4 separate regions of the Homo sapiens genome follow, and regions 1, 2 and 4 are each linked to region 3. Evidence: promoter capture Hi-C in 16 types of primary human blood cells and fetal thymus (Javierre and others, 2016). All regions are on one chromosome and are shown on one strand. Each heading gives the region's core, a stretch centred on a gene start or on the middle of the fragment in contact. The rest is flanking DNA. Distances are from core to core; before and after follow the strand shown. Region 1 has its middle 11 kb from the start of CXCL8. Region 2 has its middle 31 kb from the start of CXCL8. Region 3 holds the start of PF4V1 (platelet factor 4 variant 1). Region 4 has its middle 11 kb from the start of PF4.

What was found. The method cuts DNA at HindIII sites, captures the fragments that hold promoters and counts their contacts. A CHiCAGO score of 5 or more calls a contact.
Region 1: a fragment that was not itself captured here is called in contact with the fragment with the promoter of PF4V1 in region 3 in 1 of 17 cell types (neutrophils); the score reaches 11.1 in neutrophils.
Region 2: a contact is called between a fragment that was not itself captured here and the fragment with the promoter of PF4V1 in region 3, in 2 of 17 cell types (neutrophils and M1 macrophages). The highest score is 17.7, in neutrophils.
Region 4: a contact is called between a fragment that was not itself captured here and the fragment with the promoter of PF4V1 in region 3, in 1 of 17 cell types (neutrophils). The highest score is 5.5, in neutrophils.

What each region holds. Positions count from the first base shown.
Region 1 is chr4:73,748,827-73,754,230 of GRCh38, forward strand. No RefSeq gene overlaps it. Among named protein-coding and RNA genes, the nearest start is that of CXCL8, 11 kb to the left of the region's middle. The HindIII fragment of the contact is 9,638 bases long and covers 1-5,404 here.
Region 2 is chr4:73,769,198-73,774,465 of GRCh38, forward strand. No RefSeq gene overlaps it. Among named protein-coding and RNA genes, the nearest start is that of CXCL8, 31 kb to the left of the region's middle. The HindIII fragment of the contact is 2,775 bases long and covers 281-3,055 here.
Region 3 is chr4:73,850,454-73,855,969 of GRCh38, forward strand. It overlaps PF4V1 (platelet factor 4 variant 1), which reads left to right and starts at 2,843. Exons shown (of 3, transcript NM_002620.4): 1 at 2,843-3,009; 2 at 3,330-3,456; 3 at 3,582-4,030. The coding sequence starts at 2,910. The coding sequence ends at 3,669. The HindIII fragment of the contact is 5,836 bases long and covers 580-5,516 here.
Region 4 is chr4:73,968,086-73,973,344 of GRCh38, forward strand. No RefSeq gene overlaps it. Among named protein-coding and RNA genes, the nearest start is that of PF4, 11 kb to the right of the region's middle. RefSeq lists an enhancer at 1-294. The HindIII fragment of the contact is 522 bases long and covers 1,083-1,604 here.

The sequences.
Region 1 (5,404 bases), core at 1,712-4,211, 100 kb before region 3:
GATCATCTCAATGGATTCAGAAATAACCTGGGATATGACTTAACATCCAATCATTTTAAAGAAAAAAAATCCTCTAGGAATGAGAGGAAACTACTTTAAACCTATAAAAGTTACAATAAAACAAACAAAAATCACAGCATACTCAAGACTTAAGAGTTAATTTAAAAATAGTAATATATACAATTGAAGCAAAACAGGTTTCCATTATCACCACTTCCATTCAATTTTTTATTGAAAGTCCTGGGCAATGCAGGAAGATAGGAACAAAGATATTAAAAAGTAACAATTGGGAAAGAAAAAAATAAAAGGTAGAACTCAAAAGATTATATAAAGATAATTGATTAACTTTAAACAATTTTGCTGGGTATGAAAACAATTTATAAAAACAAATTGCTTCTCTGTATACCAGGAACAATTAGAAAAGGCAGCTTAAAGCATACTATATAAACTAGCATCATCATTTAAATCAACAAGAAATAAATCTAACAAAGCTGTGTAAGAAATGTGTGAAGAATATTATTATACTTTATTAAATCCCCAAGATTGGAGATCATCCTATAAAAACCCTAGAAGACAACTTAGGCAATACCATCTTGGACGTAGGAGTGGGCAAAGATTTCATGACAAAGATAACAAAAGCAATCTCAACGAAAGCAAATGTTGACAAACGATATCTAATTAAACTTAAGAGCTTCTGTGCAGCAAGAGAAACTATCAACAGAGTAGACAGAGGGTGGAGGGTGGGAGGAGGGAGAGGAGCAGAAAAGGTAATTATTAGGTACTAGGCTTAATACCTGGGTGATGAAATAATCTGTCTAACAAACCCCCATGACAGGAGTTCACCTATGTAACAAACCTGCCCACATCCCCTGGAACCTAAAATAAAAGTTACAAAAAAAGTCATCAAAGGAAACCTAAAAATAAGGTAAATATAACATGTTGCATGAATTGGAAATAAATCTTGTAAAACAGATGTCACTTATTTCCCAATTAATTTACAGATCCAATGAAGTTCTAATATAATTTCCAAAATCTATGTATGTAATTTGTCAAGACGATTTTAAAATTTGTCTTGAAGTGAAAGGTTCAAGAATATCTGAGACATCTTTGAAGAAGAACAAGTTGAGACACACTCTTATTAAAGCATTGGGGTCTCATTCCCAGTAGCCTTTAGAGAAAATTATAGCTGTTAGCCTTGACGGGAAGAGTTAGACGAGGTGGCTTATTGAATTGATTCAAAGCCAATCAATCTATGTGAAAACACTGGTATTAGTAAGACATCTAAAGACTGCAAGGAAGACATAGGCTGAGATACTTTCATTAATCAGGTTTGCATATTCCAGATGATCTGAAGTCACAAAGGGTTCCCTCTTTCTTTCGTATTTAGAAAATATGCTATAGGACATTTAGAGTGAGGAAGAAAGTCTTCTCTTATTTTCTCACTAGTTAGTTCACATTGCAACCTGCTTTTCCTATGTCATTTAGCTTCTTAACAATTGCTCTGGGTACCTATAGTTGCTATTATCTCTCTGGTCTCTTTTATAACTCCCAGTGCATATTAACACATAGGTATTCAGCATAATAGAATCAATGCAAGATTTAAAAGTGACACACCAGTAGGAACCAACTGAAAATTCTACCTGGTATTCGCTGTTTAGAAACAACTTCGTTGTTTCCCTTTAGAAGAGGATTTTTTCCTGCCTATATTTCTTCTCTTGCTATGTTGCGGGGCTTCTTTTTCTTCAGGGTTCTGCCTAATCTTCGTTTCCATATTCTCCTCTTCACATTCAAGATCCCTTGTCCCACTCCCATTTTTCAGTTTCTCATCTTGTGTATCTCATTGATAAGTAAATAAAACAGATAGAAATAAGTAAGTTTAATAAAATATTGCTAGGAGATGTACCAAAGTTATTTGCATGAAAGTTGATCATATGAATTGGATCATTTTTGTCACTCAACTAAAACAGAGTTGGGAGGCCAGGGAGGGGGTGGGGTGGGGGGAAAGCACCCAGCACAAAACATTGCTCAAAAGATGTAATTCTCTGCAAGCTGGGCAGCTAAAGCTGCCTGCTATAACCTGAAACCAGTTTGATCTAACTGCTGAAAGCTGCTCAAACTCTCTGACTAGTTTTGCCCACTGCTGTCACTTACCTATCAGAGTTTGCTAGAACCTTAAAATCTTACTAGTGCTAATGAAATTTCTCAAAGAGCAATATGTAACATTTTCCCATTTCATAAAATCTTGAACCTTCTCCTTGTTATCCAGAAAGCACACTTCCACTTGTACTAAAAAGCATGCCTCCCCAATCTATAGATTTAAAAAAATTATAAAAAATAAAGCTCTACTCCTTTCCCTCTACAGATCTCATGGTCTTTGGTTAACATTTGGAAGCAGGCAAGCAGGGGTTATCTAATCTAACTAGCCTAGATTTCCATGAGAACGTTTAGAGTCTGAAGCATGAGTAGGAGTTAGCCACACAAAGGGAAGAAGAATGTGTAGGAAAGGAGTCTAGACAGTGAGAAAAAGTAATGTGTAGGCAAGAGCTTGATATGATTTAAGAAGTGAAAGAATTTCAGTATGACTAGAGTTTGGCGTGAAACAGAACAAGTGCTAACAGCTAAAGCTAAGACAATAGACAATACATTGCTCTAAAGGGCTTAGAGTTAGAATGGAAAACTTCTAGTGCACTCCAATTTGCCTAATTTTGAGTTGTGAACACTACATGCCATTCTTCCTCCGAGGTGTTTCCAGATGGAAGTGGGAGGCCACAAAAGCAACCTAAAGTGCTTAATCTTAGAAACTTCTTCGTGCCATTTGGAGATTGAATCAAAGAACTAACTTCTGACTCTAAACAAAACCTCTTAATGTGAGGTTTTAACATCATATTAATATCATCAGTATCCAACCCTAAAAGCAAAATGAGAATATCTGTACCAATTCAGTGTATCTTAATAATGAATACTTTTAAGCACTACCTCTCAATTCCATCTTTATCACCTTTAAAATATGCCAGATTATTTCTTTACTTTCTCATCTATATTGTCACTGTCTACAAGACAGTGAAGTATTCCATCTAAAAGGCAATCAAGTAGGTCAAATTGAAAATGTGCCATCATGTAAATAAGCCAAAAAAAGGAAAAATGAAAAAGAGAGGGAGAATGTGAGCATGTGAGTGAGAGAGAAAGGTCAAGCAATTTGCTGAATTAACATTTTTTGCTTTATTTTTCTTCAATGATAATAGTAATGTATATAAGGATGTATATAGATAGTTGTATATGTATAGTTATGTATACAAATATGTATTTATTTGTATAGACCCAGCCTTAGAAACAAACTACATGAAAGATATATTATCACATACCGTTGATCCATTTGTGTGATCTTAAATCACTTGTCTAATTTTACTGAATAGAAGCATGAATTTAAATATACAGAAACACACAAAATAAAAGATATATAAAGATAATAAAGTGTTCACCCTAAAATTGCATTACATGTAAAATACCATAATACATATGTTGTACATACAACATACAAAATCAAGAATTTTCATAAATGACATTTGTTTTGCTAGAAATGCATCCAGAAATAGATTCATCAGTTGAAGTACCTAGGCAAAAATATTTTATTTTCAAGATTTTGTTAAATAAGTAATAATTTTTTATTACAATACACCTATTTTTACATTCAGTTTATATTTCAAAACTTGAGAAGGATAAAAAATTATTTTGCTTTTGGCTTGTGATAATAATACAGCAAGTGAAAATTGCGTAAGAATGTACTAACTCTGCAATAACAACAAAAAGTCTAAGAAACCAGTCATTTCTCCATTATTCACTTTAAAAGACGTCCAGATAGCAATTGTCTCAAGTTTGGTAACCATCAGCTGAGTTTGCTGAAAACACAGACAACAGATAGAAACTTTTCCAATGCATCAGAGTAAATCGACAATTCCATCTCACAAGATTTTCAAAACAGAAAATCAAGAATCCTCTAAATGATTACTTAAGTCAAAGAATCCAGCTCTTACAATGAATGGAGAAAGAGGGATTTCTATGTACTTTGCATTCCATAAAAATTAAATTAAATAGATACACAAAGGTATCTCTTGATGAAAAACAAAGATATGAAAACATTCACAGAAGTTTCCACCCAAAGTTTGTTTCAGATGTATCTGGATGAATGTTCCAATAACTTTGTAAAAGATTATAGTGCAACAGATGAGAATAAACTTAAGGTATCAAGCAATTGTATTTCATAGGGGATAGTTTACCTTACATTTTAATCATGTTGTGATATGATTCCACTATCTAAATAGATCCTAAATTAGGATCACTAATTAGATCCTAATTTAATCTGCCACTTACTGCATGCTACTTTGCCTTTACACTTTCATTTTTAGTGTTCCTCTAAATGAAGCATTTGTGGGGAAACTATTCTATAAGTAGATACTTCTGCTTAGATTTATTTTTTCTATATGCTTCCAAAGGTATCCACCATGCCTCTTACAGGAATCCCATTTTGAAACATGTTATTAAAGAGACAACTCATTTCTAGTCACCTCTCTGCAGGTCTCCAGCAGCTCTGCTATGACGTAGGTGAATCATCCTTCTCCCCAACTTGTTTTATTTTCCTTAGTATGTGCTAGTCATGTTTTGTGAAAAACTCATTCCTAAACTTTCTTGTTTAGGAAACAAGAAATATTTTGTTATTATTGAGCTCATTGAAAAATTTCTGAATATTAAAAAATATCATATTCCAAGATCTTTTTGTAAATCTTAAATGAGCCTTAGAGTTGGTGAAGGACATTTGTAAAATATAATGCTTTATTCTGAAGAGAGAGGAAAATCTTAGCATTTTCTTTCTTTTTCTATCTTCCTGACCCATCTTATCCATCTTATGTTGTGGGTTAGTTTTAGAGGCTTCTGTGCGGCTATGAAAAGGACTATGACTTCTACTTCTAAGTCCCTTTTCTAGCACTAAACTTCTTCCCAAAATAATCTTTCTAATCTCCTAGTTAACTAAAATTGTCTCATTTTTCCTTATCTCAAAATGGAGAGAAGAGTTAGTAGTAATATGTACTGAGTAAAATTTGTTATATCTTTCACATGTAATGTCACATAGATTCTATACAAACTGTTTATATGTGTTTCCATCTATATCCTTCCTATTATCTAAATCTTTTAAAACCTTGTGTTTATTCATATATTTTTAATTGAGATATAAAATCGTATGTATTTACCATGCACAGTGTGATAGGTTTTCTGACCCCTCACTTTACAGTGAGAAAAACTACATGACTCTGATTTTAAATGTGGTGTACTCCATGTGGTATGTATTGGGAATAGAATAAATGCCATTTTTGCACTTGATTTCCATGTAACATAGTACATTAGCTTTTAA
Region 2 (5,268 bases), core at 418-2,917, 82 kb before region 3:
TAACTCAAGTATTTGAACTCTCCTGGGAAGATGTTATGCTACTTTTGAATCAAAGCCTGACTAACACTGAGAAGCAGGCTACTCTGCAAGTGGCAGAGAGATTTGGGGAATGAGCTTTCTATTACATACAGTGTCAGGGAAGGGGTCAAACTTTATCCAACTAGAAGAGAAGCAGTACCGTTGGATAACCCTAAATGGGATCTCACTGACAAGATGGGAGAATGGAAGAGGAGACACATTCAGGTGTGCATAATGGAGGGATTATGTAGGACTAGAACTAAGCTTCTCAATTATTCTAAGTTATCCATGATAGACCAGGTATTTGATGAGAATCCCACTGCTCTCCTGGAAAGGTTAAAAGAGGCCTTGGTGAAGCACAACTCTCTACTTCCTGATTCAGTTAAGGGACAACTAATCCTAAAGGATAAATTTATTACTCAGGCAGCCCCTGAGATCAGGAGGAAGCTGCAGAAACAGGCCCTGGGACCAGATAGTACTTTAGAGAACCTCCTGAAAGCAGCCACCTGTCTTTTACAATAGGTCACTGGAATAGATTCTTGAATTTATTACACCCATGTAAATGCCTGGGAAGCTGATGAACCCAAAGAGTACCCAAAGTACCAATATGAAGAGGTTGGGGACCTCAAGCTAAAAATTACAAAAGATAAGTGTTAAACTTCCATGGATATCCTCTTTATAGTCTTGCCTATGTTCGCTGTTTTTACCTTTATTCTGTTCTATACTGCAGGATACAATATTGTGTCTAGAAGGAATAGTATATTTTACTTCTTATTTCTGTAAACTTTGTCACCAGATTATCTCCTTTTAACCCCGTTTTGTATAATACATATATTTGATCCATGCAAACTTATCCCTGTAAAACTTGTTTCTTCTCACCTAAAGGCGATCAAATTCCAAAGGGTCATGTAACTGGAGCCTCGGACAATGGCTCCCTTTTACCAGAGGCCCTTAGGTAAACCTCTGAGGGAAATCTGACCACTGTTTTCTTCAAAACAGTGTCCCCAGTAAGCAGAAAGTAGCTAAGATCGGTCATTGTCTGTATTCTAATGGCAGTGAGATGTTCCGCTTTGAAAAGGGAAATGATGGGGAAAGGAGGCAGAGAAATTCTAGGTAAAAAAGGGCAGGTCCCTGGTGAAGCCCTATCCTCAAGCTGAAAAGCCCGAGACCATGGCCAAAGTGAGAACTGTTTTCCCATGCGAACTTTGCCTTTTCCTAAGTCACCCATGACCCTGCCCCACCCCATCCTGTGCCTATAATGACTCCAGACTCAGCCAGCAGAGGGAAGAAGCAGCTGGACCTTGGGGACTACAGCTAGACATTGGAGAGAAGTGGCTTGACTTCAGAGGGATGGCTTGACCACGTAACTTTGGAGAAGAATCCTGCTGAACATGGCTGGACTTCAGGGGAAGATTACTTCCCCTTTTCAGCTCTCTTTCCCACTGAGAGCCACTTTCATTGGCAATAAAATCTCCCACATTTACCATCCTTTAAATCATTCATGCGACATCATTTTCCGTGGACACCTGACAACAGCTTGGGAGCCACAAGTGTGAATACAAAAGGCTTCATACTGGCCCTTTTCCCTCGCTGGCAGAAGGCAGCCACCTCACATGAAAAGAAAGAAGTCCCACTGAACTATTAACATTTTAGCTGTCTGTGGATGGGAGAGCTAAAAGAATACTGTAACATGTCCTCTGGGACTTCAGGGGTCACAGGCACCATCCCATTGATGCTGCTGCAAAGCCCACATGGAGTTTGCTCCTGCCAGTGCCTAAATGTGCTTGCCCTGGCTCCTGCACTCGCTCACCTGTGCACTCCCTCCTGAAAGGGGTGGAACACAGCAGGTGCAAGTGAGTGGAGTTTGCTCCTGCTGGCACCAAAGCAGCCAGCTGGTTCCAGGGCTCATGCAATCCAGTTCCTGCCTCATTTGATAGCGTGCTCCCTCCCACAAGAGTTGAAAGCTGCTGACTGAGTAAATGAGGCACCTCTGTTGTGAGTCCTGTGAAAGGGTCAGGGAAATATTCTTCTTCACTACCAAAAGACATGCTTTCATGAGTAGGCTGACAGAACTATTAGGGAGGATAGTTTTATTTCTTCATGCGTTTTCTGGGAATCCTTGCTACTTGTGGCATATACATGAGATGGTTTCTCTGTGTCCTTGCATTGGCCATCTCCACCTTAGTGAAGCCAGGTCTGCACCGTTCCTTATTATGATTTCTTTTTCTTCCCTTTTTGACACAGTAAGATCACCTGGATGTTGCTCAAAATGATGGCATGTAATAATTTTTAAACATTTGGAGATCAGATGAGATTGGGTGTGTTCAGGATGTATGGCCATAGAGAAGACAAGATATATAATAAATATTATATATTGTATCTTAGATATATGTATCAACTATGTTGATCTATTATCTATCATCTATCTTTCAAGAATAGAAAATTTATCTTGAACCCACTCCTCTCAAAAAAGAAGTGTGTCAATAAATGTTCAGAAACAATGGTGAGCATGTACCATTTTGTTGATAAAATATGTTTTATCTAATTCAGTAGTGCAAGCTATTATTGTCTCTACCACCTCACATGTCCACATGATAAGAAGCAGTCTGAATAGCTGATGTTAATGTGCCTCAAATTAATTCATGCATTCTTCTTAGGGACTCCTGGTGAGAGTAAAGAAGTGCTATTTATTGAACACCAACAGTGAACACTGTGCTAAGTGCTGTATTACAAGGGTGTAGGATCATTGTTGTCCATGCTCTTACAGGATAAATAAAAATAAAGCAGTATGGCAGGAACACAGAGAGGAGAGCTCTGACCTTTGACTCAGGAGCCTTCACTGGTTCCACACACATCACTTAGTGAATAATAATTAAGGTATCTTGAGTGACTCTTCATGAAACAGTTGTAAAACACTGTGTTTCTTAAAACTTTCCCCCACTGACTTATGTATTTATTGCTAATTTGTCAAAATCGTCTTCCACTTTGGAAATATAAATAGTTAGTACAACTTTACTAATTTATGCTATTTTTAGAAAGCTTCGAAATAGCACCAATTTACTACAAGGACTATGCTGGGGGCTAAACTTTTCCCCTATTCCTAAATTCATATGTTAAAGTCTTCAACCCGAGTGCCTCAGAATGAATCTCAGACAATATCGCAAATTTTATGATCCTCTAAAAATATTCCACTTGAATTTTCTATGCAGGCTTTAAAAAATTATTGTTATATCACTGTGAATTGTCTATACTTTGTTAATTTGGATAGATTTTCTGAGTTCCTGAATTTATTTTTGTGACTTTGTACTAATATAGTCACAAAGCAATATATCACAAGCATTTATGTGGAGATATTTTGAGAACTTGAAAGAAGTTTCAGTTCCCTAACATCCAGGAATAAACAATAATTAAGTAATTTTAATGTGTCTGGGTCATTGGGGTTGTAGAAAGAATATAGAAAAAGTTAAGAATGCATTAAAGATTGTCTATATTTTCTCTTTTCACTTGGAATAAACCTAACTAAATGCTAAATATATTTTAAGTAGATACGTCTTTCTGGATAATTCATGTTGTATTAAGGATTATTATATATACCCAGTAAATTTAATTCCTAATATCCTGGGCCCCCAAACATACAGGAAATAAAGATATATAACCTCCCTAAGTGTGTGTTATCTATGTATTTTTATCTACTTATAAAAATTCTTGCTTCATTATGACAATAGTAAAATAATGTATTGTAGGCATTTGTTTTTTTTAAATTTTGATTTTAAAATAATATTAGATTTAAAGAAGAGTTGTAAAAATTGTACAGACTTCACTTATACACATTTCACTTAACGTCTAATGTTAACATCTTTTATAATCATGGTATATTTATCAAAACTAATATCATATCATCTCTCTTTCTGTCTATCTTCTTTTTTTTTTAGGAAACAGGGTCTCTCTCGTTGCTCAGGCTGGAGTGCAGTGGCATGATTCTGTTCACTGCAGCCTCAAACTCCTCGGCTGAAACAATCCTCCTGCCTGAGGGATGATAAGACTACAAGTGCACACTACCATGCCTGGCTAATTTTTTATTTTTTGTGTGAAATAGAGTCTCATTATGTTGCGTAGGCTTGTCTTGAACCCCTGGCCCTCAAGCAATTCTCCCACCTGAGCCTCCCAAAGCACTGGGATTACAGGTGTGGGCCACCATGCCTGGCTTATTTCTCATTCCTTAGTCTATTGTGACCTTGACACTTTTGATGAGCATTGGTCAGGTATTTTCTAGAACGTCTCTCAATTTGGGTTTGTCTGACCCCCCAGTTACGGATTTTAGGAAAAATTATCACAGAGGTAAAGTGCCCTTCTGTAGGGGCCAGCCCCACAGGGTCTGTGAGTCTCTCCCCATGTGCAGCGACGAGAGAGTGTAGAAATAAAGACACAAGACAAAGAGATAAAAGAAAAGGCAGCTGGGCCCGGGGGACCACTACCACCAATGCGCGGAGACCGGTAGTGGCCCCGAATGTCTGGCTGTGCTGTTATTTATTGGATACAAGGCAAAAGGGGCAGGGTAAAGAGTGTGAGTCACCTCCAATGATAGGTAAGGTCACGTGGGTCACGTGTCCACTGGACAGGGGGCCCTTCCCTGCCTGGCAGCCGAGGCAGAGAGAGAGAGAGGAGACAAAGAGAAAGACAGCTTACGCCATTATTTCTGCATATCAGAGACTTTTAGTACTTTCACTAATTGACTCCTGCTATCTAGAAGGCAGAGCCAGGTGTACAGGATGGAACATGAAGGCGGACTAGGAGCGTGACCACTGAAGCACAGCATCACAGGGAGATAGTTAGGTCCCCGGATAACCGTGGGCAGGCCTGACTGATGTCAGGCCCTCCACAAGAGGTGGAGGAGCAGAGTCTTCTCTAAACTCCCCCAGGGAAACGGAGACTCCCTTTCCCGGTCTGCTAAGTAGCGGGTGTTGTTCCTTGACACTCTTTGCTACCGCTAGACCATGGTCTGCCTGGCAACGGGCGTCTTCCCAGACACTGGCGTCATGTCTAGACAAAGGAGCCCTTCTGGTGGCCCTGTCTGGGCATAACAGAAGGCTTGCACTCTTGTCTTCTGGTCACTTCTCACTATGTCTCCTCAGCTCCTATCTCTATATGGCCTGGCTTTTCCTAGGTTATGATTATAGAGTGAGGATTATTATAATATTGGAATAAAAAGTAATTGCTACAAACTAATGATTAATGATATTCATATATCTA
Region 3 (5,516 bases), core at 1,593-4,092:
GCATCACTAGGCAATTGTTTTCATTGTGTAAACATCATAGAGTGTACTTACAAAAACCTAGTATAGCCTACTACACACCTAGGCCATATGTTATGGCCTATTGCTCCTAAGCTACAAACCTGTACAGTATGCTACTGTATTGAATACTGTAGGCAAATGTAACACAATGATAAGTATTTGTGTGCCTAAATATATTTAAACATAGAAAAGGTACAGTAGAAGTATGCTCAAATAGAAAATGGTAAACCTGTAGAGAGCACTTGCCATGAATGGAGCTTGCAGGACTGGAAGTTGCTCTAGGTGAGTCAGTGAGTGAGTGATCAGCGAATGTGAAGGCCCAGGACATTACAGTCCGATCCTGCAGGCTGTATAAACACTGTACACTTAGGCTACACTAAGTTTCTAAAAAATATTTTTCTTTATTCAATATAAATTAACCTTAGCTTACTGTAACATTTTTATTTTATAAATGTGTTAATTTTCTAAACTTTTTCACTTTCATAATAATACTTCACATAGAATACAAACACACTGTACAGCTATATAAATATATTTTTTCTTTTCTATTCTCATTCTATAAGCTTTTTAATTTTTAATTTTTTCACCTTTTAAATTTTTTTATTGAAAACTAAGACTCCAACATAAAAATTTGCCTATACAAGGTCAGAATCATCAATCACTTTCTTCCACATTCATTTCTTATCTCATGGGCAATAAGACATATGGAGTGGTCATCTTCTAAAATAACAATGTCTTTTTCTGGAATATTTTCTGAAGGGCCTTCCAGAGGCTGATTCATAGTTAACTCTTCTTCCATTAGCAGGAGAAGGAGTTCACTCTAAAATAATGATTAAAGAGTATAATATAGTAAATACACAAACCAGAAACAGTGTTGTTTATTATAATTATCCATTTTTATGTACTGTACATACTTGTATGTCATATACTTTTATGCAACTGGAAGCACAGTAAGTTTGTTTACACCAGCATTACCACAAACACATGAATAATACATTGGCTTGCTATGATTTTACAACAGCTATGGTATCACAAGGCAATAGGAATTTTTTAGCTCCACTATAGTCTTATGGGATCATCATCACTTATACAGTCTATTACTGCCCAAAACGTTGTTATGTGGTGGGTGACTGCACATAAGTCACAGAGAATTGCTATTGAAGAGATCACTATCTTGTGGGAGAGGCAGACAAGTGGACAAATAATTTTGACCATATGTGACACGTGTCAATATAGATGTATGTTCCAATTATATGCTCTAATTGCTCCAATTGAATAGACATAGGAACACGTCAAAGCCTCATCATCATCATTTTCAACACATTATCTTCACTACTGTAGCTACTTTGCACTGAGTCCCTACCAGTACATTGAAATAGTGATAAACGTTATGATATCTAATGTCACAGTGTTTTCCATTTAAGAAACAAAACAATTTTAAACACTTTTAAATACACAGATACACATACACACACATATATATATATATATCTACAATATATGTGTGTGTATGTTTGTGTATTCTGTGAGAAATACGAAGAACAGAGTTCTGCAAGATAGAACAACAAGGGAACACAATTATATATAGCTGTCAGGGAAGGCACACCTGAGGAAGTGATATTTAAGCTGACACCAGAAATATGAATAGGTCTTAGCCAGCTGAATAGGCAGGTGTAGGGAGAGTAGGAGAAAGAATTGCATATTCCTACAAAAATGCAGGTTTGCTGAGCATTAGAATATCAGCTAGTTCCATCCAGTGGGTCCCTGACACCCTTCACCACTGTTAGTCAGAGTGACAGGGAACCTTGGGCTTTGGGTTGAGGGTGTACCTTGCCCTGATCAAGAGCCAAAGTCATTCTTTTTTAGAGAAGAGAAAACGGTCGATATGGATCTCTTCCCCTTTCCCGTGTGGGATTCTGTTGCATCCCCTTCACTGTCACCTCCCATCATTCTCACACCCAACTCCCAGATGCCCTGAATCCTCCCACAGAGAGCATCACTGCTCCCTGCCAACAGTGCAGCCCATCTCACCCTGTCACTGGCAGTGACTGAGGACACAGCAGGCTCTGGAAGACATGGCCTGGCAAACTCTCCTTGTCCTCTCTTCTGGACTATTATTCAGGATTGAAACAATGAAGAAACATCCAGGAGCTAAGTTTTTATAAAAATAATGCATTCAAATATTACTTCTGCAATTTTTCTAAGAGTAACGGGAAATAGATCTTGCATCCTACAGTATACTGGGTGATTGTTGGTGGAGCCTGGTAAATCTCATCCAGAGACTAGGGAAGTTTTCCACATTCAGGTGAAATTCAGAAGAGTCATCACCTAGAGACCAAATTAAACTTATTAGTATTAGAAAACAATTGCAAATAGCACACTCTTCAAACACACAGCCATCAAACTCAATGGTAATCAAGACTGAAGTTAGGAGCATATGGGCAGTTCTTGAGTTGAGAAGGAAACAAGAACTGTCTGGGTCCTGAAGCCACCTGCTGTGTAAGTTGCTTGGTGACTACAGAGAACTCTACTATGATACAACACAGAAAATATTTCTCTTCTAAGATGCAAGTAGTGTTTCTAACTCCACAAATGTAAGTGTATATAAACTGAGGTTGGAGGTATGCATCTTTGTACCACCTCCTAGCCAAGGCAGCTGCCCCCAGCCTTTTGTTTTGTAATCTTGGCTGGCCAGAGTCTGAGTCTTCATAGCAGTGTCTTAGCTCCTGCACCACAGTTCCTCGCTGTCCACCCCAGGCTTCCGGACTGGAAGGACAGTGGGACAGTGACGGGGGATAAAAGAAGCCTGGTGAGGCCAGGAGTCACTGCCTGCAGAACCCCAGCCCGACTTTCCCTGCGCACTGGGATCCTGCTGGAACCTCAGCTGCAACATGAGCTCCGCAGCCAGGTCCCGCCTCACCCGCGCCACCCGCCAGGAGATGCTGTTCTTGGCGTTGCTGCTCCTGCCAGTTGTGGTCGCCTTCGCCAGAGGTGAGAGCAGAAACCAGGCTGGGAGGGCCAGCAGCGGCGAGGGGGAGTCCGGGAAGCCCTGGGGCTGGGGAGGAATCCTCTAGGATCATGATCGCAGCTGCTCTTATTGCGCGCGTGCTGAGTCTGCGGGTACAGTGCCAGGCACTGCACGTGCACCTCGCCACCTGATCAGCACAACCTCTGTCTGAGAGAGGTCTGATTTACGGCTAAGGAAAAGAAAGCTGAAGGTAGTGGAAAAGGTCCCTAAAGTATCTCTGGCTACTCAGGGAGTCACAACTCCCACCCCTCCTCCTCTCTTACTCCCTCCCTTTCCCCCTCAGCTGAAGCTGAAGAAGATGGGGACCTGCAGTGCCTGTGTGTGAAGACCACCTCCCAGGTCCGTCCCAGGCACATCACCAGCCTGGAGGTGATCAAGGCCGGACCCCACTGCCCCACTGCCCAACTCATGTGAGTCCTCGCACTGCATCAGTTAGTGCTCCCGCTCCGTGCCTCCTCTGCCCATCCCTCCCCCTTCTAATGCCATTTGCAAACCCAAGGACTGAAAGTCACGTCTCTTCTCTTTTCCCTGCCAGAGCCACGCTGAAGAATGGGAGGAAAATTTGCTTGGATCTGCAAGCCCTGCTGTACAAGAAAATCATTAAGGAACATTTGGAGAGTTAGCTACTAGCTGCCTAAGTGTGCACTTTCAATCTAACTGTGAAAGAATCTTCTGATGTTTGTATTATCCTTCTTATATTATATTAACGAAATAAATCAAGTTGTGGTATAGTCAATCTATTTCTTAATAATACTGCAAAAATAATGCTGACACATCACAATTTCATATTTTAAAATTTCCAGAATTTTAAGCAAAAAGCATTATGAAGGAAGGCTTGGTTTAATAAAGACTGATTTTGTTCAGTGTTATATGTTAGCTGATACATATTTGTTCATTTATGTGATTGCAGTACTTTATAGCTACATATTTACCTTGAATGTTACAATTAGCTTGCCAATAAATATTAGTAGCTCTTAAGCATTACTCGACAGCTTTTTTTTTTTTCAATGAAGTAAATAAGCAACACTCTGCTTTTATCCCCACAAATTCCTTAACATTGGTGATATTAAGATTCTGGGAACTAAGAGAAGTGTGAGGTAATATTTTCATTCATCCTTTAGGAAGACATTGCTCTACACTGGGGAGAAATGAAGGTGTTATAATGTGGGCATATTAGTTTCCTGTTGCTTCTGTAAGAAATTACCACAAACTCAGTGGCTTAACCAACACAAATTTATCGTCTTGTAATTCTAGGGGTCTCAAGTCCAAAGTAAGTCTTAAAGGTTAAACTCAAGCTGTCCTCAGAGCTGTATTCCTTCTGAAGGCTCTAGAAGAGAATCTACTTCCTCTCCTTTTTCACCAGCATTCCTTGCCTCATAGCCCTTTCTCCAGTCTTCAACCTGCATCACACCAACCTCTACTTCTCCTCTGTCTCTGCTGACTCTTCTACCTTTTATATCCGGCTTACCTCTCATAAGGAGGCGTGTGAATACATTGGGCTCACTTGGATAATTCAGAAACGCTTTCCAACTCAAGTTCTCTAATACATCTGCAAAGATATATATATATATATATATATATATATATATATATATATATATATATATTTTTTTTTTTTTTTTGCCATGTTAAGCAACACATTCATAGTGTCCAGAGAGTAGAACACAAGGATCTCAGGGGTGGGGGGCATTATTCAGCCTACCACCATGGACCAGAAGGCAAGACCTACTTGAGGCAGGAGAAAGCTACAGACCCTTGTTCATGAGCTAGTGCAATTTTAACCTAATGTGACAATGTGTACAGATAGGATTAAGATCTATGATAAAATACAGATGGTACAGTTCAATCTCTGTGGTGGGCTGGAAGGGAGGGAGGTACCTAGGATGACAAATTGATTAAAATAAACAAAATTTACAGAGACTTGTGAATATCATCTAAAATTTCCACATCCACATTGCAAATTAGTATTATTCCTATTATAGAGATGAGGTGACAGTCTTGGGAAGGACGCAGCTTGTTCAGAGGCTGAGCAGATCATTCTGACTCCCTACTTCCTGCTCTTGCTTTCACATTGTGCTGTCTTTCACACAGGAAAGTGGCATGTTAGCGAATTCCATGAACTAGCTGTTGAAGGTGGAGTAGGAATTTGTTGGCGGGGGGGGGCAGGCGGGCAATGGGAAGACTGGAACTGCCTCAAGATAAATAACAAGTAGAAAGACACAAGATCATTTTAAGTCATTTGCATGTTTGTACAACAGTTCATAGCACTGCAGGGTTGGAGTATCTATGGGGAGAGAGAATGAACAAGGGTCTCCCAACCAGTTTTTGCCCACTTAGTGTTTTTTATCTTCAGTATAACTTAATGTACTACCACCCAAACTATCTTTCCAAAACCCAAATATTTCATTTCCCTGAATAAAATATTCAAGATCCGAAGTCCTTAACCTGGCATCCCAGGCTGCGCTACACT
Region 4 (5,259 bases), core at 94-2,593, 120 kb after region 3:
ACACATCCAGGAAAGGAGCCAAATCCAGGGGGTTGAGCAGCAACTGTCTACAGGCTTCACTTACACTGCACCTCACAGGATGAGACCCATTGGTCTAGGACTCCAGCCTCCCACCACTGGGGTTATGAGGCTAGTAGCAGCTCTGCACTTCCCCAGGACAGATCTCCAGGGCAAGGGGGCAGCAACTTTCCTGCCTTGCAGCCCTCACTGTTGTTGCCTTCAGGCTCTGGAGAGCCTACAGTGACTAGGGACTGGCACAAACCCCCAGCACAGCACAGCTGTCCCACAGAAAAATGGCCAGACTCTTTTTTTTATGTGGATCCCACATTTCTCCTCAGTGGATGGGAGCTCCCAACCTGGGACTCCAACCACTTCCCATCAGGGCTCTCAGGTTGGTAGCAGCTCTGCATTTCCATGACACAGAGCCCCTAAAGGGAGTGGTAGGCTGCCATCTTTGCTTTCTCACAGCCCTCACTATTGTTGCCTTCAGGCTCTGGAGAGTATGTGGTGACGAGGGACTAACATGTAACCCTAGCACAGTGCAGCTGCTTCATCAAAAAGTGGCCAGACTGTTTTACATGCAGGTTCTCATCCCAACTTCTCCTTAGTTGGTGAGGCCTCCTAACCTTGGACTCCAGCACAACCACCCTGCCCCCACTTGAACACTTCAGTTGGGGGCAGCTCAGCATTTCTCTGAGGAGGAAATCTCAGAGTCAACCCACAACCTCTTGGCCATTGCAGCTGCAGTAGTACTGCCCTAACCACCTTTCGGCTGAGGAAGGAACAAAGGGCCTAGTCACTTCACTGGCACCCAAGCACTCCACAGCCACCATACAGAGAGGAGTTCAGTCTACCTTCCCTGTGAGCCCCCAGCACCCACTCTTCAGCAGGCAGGGCCCCTGCTCAGGTCCACAGTTTAGATGCCCCACAAACAGCTGAGAATACCCACTGGTAGTGGCTCTGAATTTCCTGGGAAGGGGCTCCAAGAGGCAATCAATGTTCCTTTCTGCCACTGTCACAACAATGTTCTGTCTCTTCTGTTCACAGGCTGGGGAAGAAACTGAGCCTGAGGGCTTCACCCAAGCTTACAGCACACCATAGTCACTATACAGAGAGGAAGCCAGTCTCTCCTCCCTGTAAACCCTCAACCCCCAAGTCCCCAACTAGGAGGGGTCCTCAGCTCAGGCTACCAGTGCAGCCACCTCAACCCCTGGCTGAACATTCCCAGGAACTGTGGCTATATGGTTCTCAGAGGTAGAGTTCCCAGAGGCTACTGAAAACCCCTCTACCACTGCCACTGCAGTGGTACTGCCCTTTCTGCCCTTGCCCTGGGGAATGAGCAAAGACCCTTAGTGCTTCAACTGCACCTTGAGCAAGCATTAATTGCCCTATGGAGAGGTTACTGGTCTGTCTGCCCTCTTTCCCCGCCACTCACTTGTCACAAGGTATGCCTCCCTGGCTTGGGCTCACAGGACAGCTGCCGCAACCCAAGTTGATCACACTGACTGATAGCAGCTCCACACCTCTCAAGATGGAGCCCCAAAAGATAAGTGAAAGACTCTCTATCACAACCACTGCAAAGTTCCTTTCCCCTGTTACCTCTAAGCTTGGGAGGGAACATAAAGCCTGACATTGCCCCAGAGCTGAGATACACAGCCCAGCAGTGTTAAATTGACATCTTCAGCCAGCACTGAAGTGAGAGAGGAACTCTTACTTTCAGAGTGCTGAGAAGGAGCATGGCTATAGTCATGAAGAAATACAGAGAAGCCATGTGACTGAGCAAAAGCTTGCCTACTGGCCATTACACTTAAGTACCACCTACTGGATTGCAGCCCAAAATTTCAACACCAAAAATAATTTGTTAATATACCCTTCTGTGATATCAATGACAAGAATTCAGCTAAAAATAAGGACCCTGCAAAAAGCTTTGGCCCTCTGAAAGCATCTAAAAAAGAAGTCTACTGGTGGTCTTCAATTTATACCACAGTTAAAGGTAAACCCATCCACACAGATGAGAAAGAACAAATAAAAGAACTCTAGCAAATCACAAAGCCAGAGTGTCTTATTCCCTGAAAATGGCTATACTAGTTTCTGAGCAAGGATTCTTAACTGGGCTGAAATAGCTGAAATGACAAAAATAGAATTCAGATTATGGATAGGAATGAAGATCATCGAGATTTGGGAGACCATTAAATAATTCAATACAAAAAATCTAACAATCACAATAAAATAATACAGGAGCTAATAGATTAAATCATATTTTTAAAAAACATCTGATAGAGCTGAAAAATACACTACAAGAATTTTGTAATACAGTCACAAGTATTAGCAGCAGAATAGATCAAGTGGAGGAAAAAAATCTCAGAGCTTGCAGGTTGACTCTGAAATAACTCAGTCAGCCAGAAATAAAGCAAAAACAATAAAAAAGAATGAACAAAATATCAGAGCAACATAGAATAATATGAAGAGACCAAATCTATGACTTATTGGTGTCCCTGAAAGAGCCAGAGAGAAAGCAAGCAACTTGGAAAACACATAATCTTGAGATTCTCTAGTATCAAAATAAAAGAAAAAAATGTCAAAGGCAGATAGAGAGAAAGGTACGGTCACCTACAAAGAGAACTCCATCAGGCTAACAGTGGACCTTTCAGCAGAAACTCTACAAGCCAGAAGAGATTGGGAACCTATATTCAACATTCTTAAAGAAAAAATTTCCAACCAAGAATTTCATATCCAACTAAAATAATCTTCATAAGTGAAGGAGAAATAGAATCCTTTTCAGAGAAGCAATGTTGAGGAAATTCATTACCACCAGGCCTGCCTTAGAAGAGGTCCTGAAAGATGCTCTAAATATGGAAAGAAAATACTCTTACTAGCCACTACAAAAACACACTTAAGTACACAGACCAGTGACACTATAAAGCAAGCACACAAGTCTGCAAAATAACCAGCTGAAAACATGGTGACAGGATCAAATCCATACATATTAACACTAACTTTGAATGTAAATGAGCTAAATGCCCCAATTAAAAGGCCCAGAATGGCAAACTGGTTAAAAAACCAAGATGTATTGGTATGCTGTCTTCAAGAGACACATCTCACATGCAGTGACACACATAGGTGCAAAATAAAGGCATGAAGAAAAATCTACCAAGCAAATTGAAAACAGAAAAAAGCAGGGATAGTAATCCTAATTTCAGACAAAATAGAATTTCAACCAACAAGAATTAAAAAGACAAAGAAGGGTATACATAATGGTAAAAGATTCAATTCAACAAGAACATGTAACTGTCCTAAATACGTATGCACCCAACACAAGACCACCCAGATTGATAAAGTTCTTGGAGACCCAAAAGGTGACCTATATTGTCACACAATAATAGTGGGAGACTTCAACAATCCACTTACAGTTTTAGAACATTGAGGAAGAAAATCGACAAACATATTTAGGAGCTGAACTCAATTCTTGACCAAAGAGACTAAATAGACATCTATAAAACTCTTCACCCAAAACAACAGAATATATATTCTTTTCATTGCCACATGGCACATACTCTAAAATCAACTACACAATCAGACATAAAACAATCCTCAAATATTTTAAAAAATTGAAATAATACCAACCACATTTCTCAGCCAATGGCACAGTAAAAATAGAAATCAATACAAAGAAAGTCACTCTAAATCAGAAAATTACATGGAAATTAAACAATCTGCTCCTGAATGACTTTGGAGTAAATAATGAAACTGAAGCAGAAATCAAGAAGTTCTTTAATAGTAATGAAAACAAAAATAAAACATACCAGAATATCTGGGGCACAGCTAAGGCAGTATTAAGAGGGAAATTTATAGCAGTAAATGCCTACATCAAAAAGTTAGAAAGATCTCAAATTAGCAACCTAACATTGCAGCTAGAAGAAATACAGAGGCGAGAGCAAATCAACCCCAGAGCTAGCAGAAGACAAGAAATAACCAAAATTAAAGCTGACCTGAAAGAAACTGAGACACAGAAAACCATACAATAGATCAAGAAATCTAGAAGTTGTTTTTTTGAAAACTAATAAAATAGATACACCACTAGGTAGAGTAATAAAGAAGAAAAGATAGGAGACCCAAATAAACACAATTAGAGTTAACAAAGGGTACATTACCACTGACCCTGCAGAAATACAGAAAGAAAAATCAAACACTGCTATGAACACCTCTATGCATACAAACTAGAAAATCTAGAAGAAATGGATAAATTCCTGGACACATACACCCTCCCAAGACTAAACCAGGAAAGATTTTAATCCCTAAACAGGCCAATAATAAGTTTCAAAATCAAATCAGTAATAAAAAGTCAACCAATCAAAAAAAGTCAGGACCCAACAGACTCACAGCAGAATTCTACCATGTGTATAAAGAAGAGCTGTTACCATTTCTACCAAAATTATTCGAAAAATACTGAGGGAGGAGCTCCTCTCTAGCTCATTCTATGAGGCCAGCATCATTTGGATACCAAAACCTGACAGAGACACAACAAAAAAAGAAACTTCAGGCCAATATCCTTGATGAACATTGATACAGAAATCCTCAACAAAATACTGGCAAACCAAATCCAGCACACATCAAAAAGCTTATACACCATGATCAAGTAGGCTTTATCCTTGGGATAAAGGATGGGTCAACATATGAAAATCAATAAATGTGATTCATCACATGAACAGAACTAAAGATAAAACCCACATGATTATTCCAATAGATGCAAAAACAGCTTTTGATAAAATTCAATATCTTTTCATGCTAAAAACCCTCAATAAAATAGACATTGAAGGAATATACTTTAAAATAATAATAGCCATCTGTGACAAACCCACAGTCAGCATCACACTGAATGAGCAAAAGCTGGAAGCATTCTCCTTTAAAACAAACACAAGGATGCCCTGTCTTACCACATGTAGTTAACATAGTATTGACCAGAGCAATCAGGCAACAGAAAGAATAAAAGGCATCCAAATAGGAAGAAAGAAAGTTAAACTATCCCTGTTTGTAGATGCCATGAGTCTATATCTAAAAAACTTCATCATCTCGGCACAAAAGCTCCTTCAGCTGATAAACAACTTCAGTAAAATCTCAGGATACAAAATCAATTGCACAAATTATTAACATTCCTGTACATCAACAACAGTCAAACTGAGAGCCAAATCAGGAGTGCAATCCCATTCACAATTGCCACAAAAGAATAAAATACCTAGGAATACTATTAGATCTCTACAC